Regions from separate parts of the Homo sapiens genome. Here region 2 is linked to region 1. Evidence: promoter capture Hi-C in 16 types of primary human blood cells and fetal thymus (Javierre and others, 2016). All regions are on one chromosome and are shown on one strand. The core of a region is centred on a gene start or on the middle of the fragment in contact, and the rest is flanking DNA. Distances in the headings are between cores, read along the strand shown. Region 1 holds the start of RSKR (ribosomal protein S6 kinase related). Region 2 overlaps SLC13A2 (solute carrier family 13 member 2).

What was found. Contacts are between HindIII fragments. The CHiCAGO score rates a contact against its expected background, and 5 or more counts as called.
Region 2: a contact is called between a fragment that was not itself captured here and the fragment with the promoter of RSKR in region 1, in 3 of 17 cell types (total B cells, naive B cells and naive CD4 T cells). The highest score is 6.3, in total B cells.

Annotation. Positions count from the first base shown.
Region 1 is chr17:28,612,440-28,616,218 of GRCh38, reverse strand. RSKR (ribosomal protein S6 kinase related) reads left to right here and starts at 2,034. Exons shown (of 12, transcript NM_001174103.2): 1 at 2,034-2,132; 2 at 2,531-2,779; 3 at 2,874-2,957; 4 at 3,073-3,141; 5 at 3,532-3,601. The coding sequence starts at 2,058. BLTP2 (bridge-like lipid transfer protein family member 2) reads left to right here. Exons shown (of 39, transcript NM_014680.5): 37 at 22-123; 38 at 421-555; 39 at 973-1,773. The coding sequence ends at 1,155. The region is part of intron 2 of SPAG5-AS1 (SPAG5 antisense RNA 1); the gene reads right to left. RefSeq lists an enhancer at 3,670-3,779. The HindIII fragment of the contact is 13,614 bases long and covers 828-3,779 here.
Region 2 is chr17:28,478,025-28,481,419 of GRCh38, reverse strand. All of the region lies in intron 1 of SLC13A2 (solute carrier family 13 member 2), which reads right to left. Among named protein-coding and RNA genes, the nearest start is that of SLC13A2, 6.1 kb to the right of the region's middle. The HindIII fragment of the contact is 3,847 bases long and covers 1-3,395 here.

The DNA.
Region 1 (3,779 bases), core at 785-3,284:
CTCCTTGCCTGCCTTTCTTAGCACCCTGTGGATGACATTGACAAGATGAAAGAGCGAGCTGCCATGAACAACTCCTTCATCTACATAAAGATTCCACAGGTTCCACTGTGTGTCAGCTACAAGGTCTGCACCTCTCAAGCACTTTGTAGAACAGGGTGGGAAGGGAACCAGATAAGATCAGAGATTCTATACAGGGAGACAGCTAGGTTGTTTGTGATGCTGAGCTGTGGGTGATAAATCTGCTGTTCCCTCTGCTCCCCTCAAGAGTCAGCATCATTACGAGGCTGAGGTAAGGGGAAATCAGTATCTGTAGGTTACTATTGTAGGACTTGGCACTCAAGTGGCTGGCTGGGACTCAAAATGGCAGCTGATGTATTCCCCACCCCTCTTTTTTTCTTTCCCCTCCCCCTCCTCTTACAGGGTGAGAAGAACAGTGTGGACTGGGGTGACCTTAACCTGGTGCTGCCCTGTCTGGAGTACCACAACAACACATGGACATGGCTAGACTTTGCCATGGCTGTCAAAAGGGACAGCCGCAAAGCCCTGGTTGCCCAGGTATCCCGCCAGGGCTCATGGCTGTTTGGCTAATGGGGCTGGCAGGCAGATCCTCTTTTCAGGAGCCTTTCATTTTAGAATCCATGAATAAATATCCTTGGGAAGGGGCAGGTGCATGAAGTGAGTGGCTTCTATGCCTACCCTCTCCATGACCTCACTCAGATTATTAAATTCAGTGTTTACTGAGTGTTTCGTATAGCACCATTGATTTTAGGGAACTGAGAGCTAACACAACCTAAAGTTTAGAAGGGGTTATAATTAGACTGTAAGCTTCTTGAAAGCAGAGACCATTGTATGTGAATTGCCCCATTGTGCCTTGGATGTGTTTAATAAATCTTTATTGTCTTGGTTCATTTTGATTTATTCTGCCTGCCCACTAATATTTACATTTTCTTTTACTCCTCTCCAATCTGCCAGGTAATCAAAGAGAAGCTAAGGCTGAAGTCTGCAACAGGCTCTGAGGTCCGGGGAAAGCTAGAAACTAAATCGGACCTGAACATGCAACAGCAGGAAGAGGAGGAGAAAGCCCGGCTCCTCATTGGTTTAAGTGTGGGCGACAAGAACCCTGGCAAGAAGTCCATCTTTGGCAGGCGCAAATGATTTGGCGATTCGAGTGGCTGCAGTACAGGATCTGACTCTGGCTCAGGCTCCAGGGACTTGTGGGGTGGGAGGGGCTTCCCGTTATCCACGAGGATTTGTGGGTGTCAGAGCCCATAGGCATCACTCTTCAGCACCTGGTCTGTTCGCTGCAGGGCATGGTGGACAGTAATGCTGAGTTCTGTCTCACACTGATCAGGCTCAGGGCCAGAGAGGCAACAAGAGAGCAAGACCCAGGGAATGGGCCCAGGGCAGGACCCTATTCCCTTGGGGTCAAGTGAAAGGGTAGGGGGATAGTCCTGATCAAGTGTGATAAATTTTTATAGACATATATAAATATATATATATTATATATATATTTCTAAGTGTAACTGTCCTTCCTCTGTGCCAGGAAACGGGAGGGGGCTGATCCTCTGATCCTCACTCCACTGTCATGTTTGAAAGAGGTATTGGTGTTCTGGAGTGGGGGTCAACCCCTCCCCAGTCTCTGTGCTAAGTTCACTTGGGAGGATGGCAGTAGGAGCCAGGGCTGGCCATGGGTCCCCTACCCTTCCCCGTAGGATATACCCTGGAGAATGGCAAAATGATTTAAAGAGAAAAAAAAAGATATTTTAAATTTGATGCTCATTTTTGTGTGTGTGTGTTGAGTGCATGCATTCAATCTGTGTATTCCTCCCTCATCAACCCAGAACATCCTGCAGCTGCCACTCTGAGGGTGGCCCCTTCCTTCCTCTGCCCTGAAGCTGTATCACAGAAATTTCTAGTCCTAGTGTGACTCTGGCCCCATGCTGATGGGTTTCTGCAGACTGGAAGAGGCGGGGCTCGTGTCACGCAGCATCAGGGAGAGGAATTGCTTATATAACTGGGACAGCAGATTTAGCAGAGAGAGGAGGCAGAGGCTGGGAATGGGAGCAGTAAGCTGTCGGCAGGGGCAGCACACCCAGCAGGGGGAACACACCCGGGTGGCTGTCCCTCACAAGGTAGGCTGTGGGGCTCTGGCAGCCTACTGAGGGGAGGAGAGGGAGACATGGGCTTGAGTCCTGGGAAGTTCCTGGTTAGGAGCATGGAAGTGATTACCCAATGTGGGGGTGGGGCAGGGAGGCTGTACTATGAAAGCATCACAGCCCAATACTGAGGTGCAGGCTGTACTCTTAATGCGTCATGGTGAAAATGTCCAACAATTATTTTCCTAGAGGATTTGAATTGTGCCCAGGAAATCTGGGGCTTAGCACAAAGCAAGGGTAATGGGAATTTTGCCTCATGCTCAAAAATGTACCTCTAGGGGTTGAGACTTAAGGGGAGGGAGTGCCTAGTAAGATGGGTGGAACCTGCTATGCCTCAGGAGCAGAAAGTTTAGAGTGGCTCCCTTGGTTCTCAGCAGGGTGGCAACATCCGGGGTCCCTGGGCCCGAGGCTGGAAGAGCCTCTGGACAGGTTTGGGAACCATCAGGTCAGATCTGGAAGAACTCTGGGAACTACGGGGGCACCACTATCTGCACCAGGAATCCCTAAAGCCAGCCCCAGTACTGGTAGAGAAGCCTCTGCCAGAGTGGCCAGTGCCTCAGTTCATCAACCTCTTTCTACCAGAGTTTCCCATTAGGCCCATTAGGGGGCAGCAGCAGCTGAAGGTAAGTCAGTGGAATCCCTGAGTGGGGTCTCAGTCTTTGGGAGAAGTTAAAAATGACCAGTCTCAACTGGCCTGTTCTCCATTCCTCTGTACAGATTTTAGGCCTCGTGGCTAAAGGCTCCTTTGGAACTGTCCTCAAGGTGCTAGATTGCACCCAGAAAGCTGTATTTGCAGTGAAGGTAGGGGCGTAGATACCACATTAGTCTCTGTTTCCAATCTTGATTCCAGAGAGGTTGGGAGGAATAAACAATTCAATAGCACTATCTATGAGTCATCACTACTCTCCTTTTATAGGTGGTGCCCAAGGTAAAGGTCCTACAGAGGGATACCGTGAGGCAGTGCAAAGAGGAGGTTAGCATCCAGGTATGCACAGAGTCCTGGAAAGGATTGTGGGAAGAGCTAGGCCACAGGTAGGGAAAGTACCTTTCTTGCCCACCTTCTTTTCCTGGTTCTGCCTCATCCATCTGCTTCAGCCTAGTTTAACACTAAAGTAGATCCTGGGAAAAGTATCAGCTCTCAACACAGTTTTCCCATGTCCTACTAGGGAAATCTCTGAAGCATGTCCCAGTGTATTCCTTAGTATTTGCTGGTTCTAGGATTACCAGATAGTCAGTTCCAAATATTGAGTTCCTCTGAACTGAGAGGTGAGGCAGCAGTTCCCCCTCTGCACATCTGGGTAAAACCTGATTTCTCAGCTGCCTTTATTCTCAATGACCCTGTTCCTCCCTAACTTCCTGTTTTCTTTGTTCCTAGCGACAGATCAACCATCCCTTTGTACACAGCTTGGGGGACAGCTGGCAGGGAAAACGGCACCTTTTCATTAGTGAGTGACTGGACTCTCTCCTCATCCCCCAGGGTCTTTGTACCATGTTCCCCACCTGAGATTACCTCTTTGGCTTGTTCTGCCTTTGCTCTGTCCCCCTTCTCATGGCACCTCTCTGTCCCAAAGGGAGGGGAACAGCAGGTGGTATCAGTTTGGGCAGGAGGCCTACAATGCCTTG
Region 2 (3,395 bases), core at 657-3,156, 130 kb after region 1:
CTCAAGTTGCACGTGATGGCGGTGACTCTTCCTACCCTTTGCTTGTTCTCATTCAAGTGTCCTTCATTGATTTGCACACCTTGATGTGAATGACTTTGTTGCATCAGCTTCTGTTTTAAGAGGCCAAAGGGAACAATGAATTTTTGAGTGCTGGAGAAAACAAAAGTGGGGAGAAGAGTCCTGATATCACAGCCTGGGCCAGGGCCAGCCCTGCCTGTATGCACTAAAGAGCAAAATGCAAGCTCCTCTACGAATTTGATCCTTGTGACAGCCCTGAGCCTCGCTGCTGGATTACATCCAGGAAACTTTACTGTCGAAGAGGGTGACTTACTTTCCCATTCCTGGCCTTCACCTAGCAGGTGCCGATAAACAGGGACACGATTTAGTAATCTGGGCAAAATCCAAGTTGGGGACTCTACGCCAGGGATCCCCCTGGCCTTTGAGGCTGGGTCCTTCTTCTTATCCTATTTCCAGGCATCCCAGAGGCTAGAAAAACTACCTCCACACAGCTGCAGGTATTCCTAGGGACACAGCTCACCAATCTGGTGGGTGACCAGACATTCCTTCCTGTTCTATAGGTGGGAACATCTGAGGCCCTCCTAAGCACAAGAGCCCATTTGAACAGAGCAATGGAGAAGAAGTGAGGTATCCACACAGGGCTCCAGACCAGTCTGTGTTTTCCAGGGGCCCAGGAATTCAGATAAGAGGCAGAGGGCGAAGGGAGCAAGTGTTTATCAAGCCCCAGGTGCCAGGTACTCTACGTATATGTGTGCTATCTCAGCTCATCTTCACAACACCCCTTAGAGATGGCAGGGTTTGAAGAGGCTCGGTCAGGTCACACGGCAGTACACGCTGCTGAATGGATTTGAACCCACACCTGTTTGGCTCCAAAATCCATGTTTTGTTCACTGGACTCTGCTATCTCAGCTGAGGGCCAAGAAATCTCAAAAGGTAGAGGTGGGGCCCAGAACAGAGGTCCAAATTCCTTGTATAGTTTTCATGCCCGAAGTGAATCATCCAAGTCCCTGCCTTTGAGGTTCAGGAACAGCTTGCACTAAGAGTATTTTAACTACACAGATTTTTTTTTTGACAAGGCCTTGTTCTGTCACCCATGCTGGAGTGCAGTGGCATGATCACTGCTCACTTCAGCCTTGACCTCCCTGGCTCAAGTGATTCTCCCACCTTGGTTCTCCTAAGTAACAGGGACCACAGGCACGCGCCACCATGCCCAGCTAATTTTTTTGACCCCCCCTTTTTTTTTTTTTTGAGACAGAGTCTCACTCTGCTGCCCAGGCTGGAGTGCAGTGGCGTGATCTTGGCTCATTGCAGTCTCTGCCTCCTGGGTTCAAGAGAATCTCCTGCCTCAGCCTCCCGAGTAGCTGGGATTACAGGCATGTGCCACCACGCCCAGCTAATTTTGTATTTTTAGTAGAGATGGGGTTTCGCCATCTTGGCCAGGCTGGTCTCGAACTCCTGACTCCAGGTGATCCACCTGCCTCGGCCTCCCAAAGTGCTGGGATTGCAGGCATGAGCCATTGCGCCCAGCCAACTTTTTTGATCTTTAGTGGAGACAAGTCTCTCTACGTTGCCCAAGTTTGTCTTGAACTCCTGAACTCGAGCCACCCTCCTGCACTGGCCTCCCAAAGTGCAAGAGTTACAGGTGTGAGCCACCACTCCCAGCCTTAATTACACAGATTTTAAAATTCAAACACATGTAATGTTTATGCATTCTAAAAGGGCCAGTGATTCAGATTAAGAAATTCTGCCTTCTGGCCTTACAATAAATGCAATATTGACTTCAGCTGAATTCTGTCCTGGCCAATGTTGAGCCACTAGGAGACTGTTTTTACAGATGCCTTTGGGTCCTGGGAGGTGTTTGTGTTGTGACTGTAACTTACTAGCTGAACAACCCCTGAGTCGTAAGTTATTCACCCCTTAATGCTCACAGCACAAAATCCCTACTCCTCCCTGTAGCCTTGTAGGGCTGACATTGGCTGACCTCAACCCTCTTCTCTAAACTTGACTTAAGCAATCTAGTGAGGCCTCTTAAGGCCTCACTCGAGCCCCCAAAGCCACACTGGCCTTGCTTAATCCCTTCAATTTGCTAAGCTCTCCCCATCTGCAGGCCTTTGCACTTACTGCTTGTTCTGCCTGGATGGCTCTTTACCCAGAGCTGTGCTTGGCTGACTATAGAGAATTTATTTTTGAGATAGGAGTCTTGCTCTGTTGCCCAGGCTGGAGTGCAGTGGCACCATATGGCTCACTGCAGCCTCAACCTCCTGGGCTCAAGTGATCCTCCTGCCTCAGCCTCCCAAGTAGGTGGGGCCACAGGCACACACCACCACACCTGGCTAATTTTTTTAGTGAGGAGACAGGGTCTTGCCATGTTGCCCAGGCTGGTCTTGAACTCCTGAACTCAAGCGATCCACCCACCTTGACCTCCCAGAGTGTTGGAACACCCTCCTCAGGAGGCCTTCCCTGACCCCATCTAGAGCAGCCCTCCCCAGGCTGTGGTCATAGCCTGCTGCATTGTTTCTGCTTTTTGTATGTCTCCCCACTCCTCCCACTTTCTCTTCCCAACACACCCAAACAGTACTTGTCACACAGTACTGAGTTCTATGTTCACTAACAAAATGCATGGTTGGATGAATACATTTGAATGGATGTAAGGTTTCCATGTCTGGCTGCAGGGTTGGGAGAGCAGGAAGACCCCAGGCCCTCCTGTTCCCCATCTGCTGGGACCACCAGAGAGTGACTAGCATTTCAAGGTTCTGTTGCCACCCCTCAAACACACCCTACTATTCCTGGCCCCTACATCTTTCCTCCTGTGGTTCCATTCACCTGTTCTGCTGATGCCTCTGACTGTTAAAACTCCACCAACCTTCAAGGCCCAACTCAAATGTTGCCTCCTTCAGATTCTCCCTTGACTCAGTTGGAAGAATTTGCTCCCTCCTCTGAGCTCTGCAGCCTTCTGGCTGAACCTTTGTGTGGTGTAAACACCTGTCTCCTCCTATAGACTATAAGCAACTTGAGAATGGAACATCTGTATTCCTTTTGGTAACCCCTGACACAGAGCAAGAGCTCAACAGATATGCTGGACTGAAGTATGGTGGGAGGACTGACTGACAGCTGGACGGACATGAGAAAGGATGGCCTGAGAGGTGGGTCACAGCGGGGGCACCACCGGCCTCCCAGGGAGCCTCAGGCAGAGACTCCAACACCAGGTTCCAGTTCAAACTTTTTTCCTAGCTGGGACTTTAAGCAAATTGCTTCCCCACACTGGCCCTCAGTTTACATGTCTGTAAAATGGAGATAGTAGTAGTAACCTCATGTAACACATAGGCTTTTTTTTTTTATTTTTTGAGACTGAGCCTTGCTCTGTCTCCTAGGCTGGA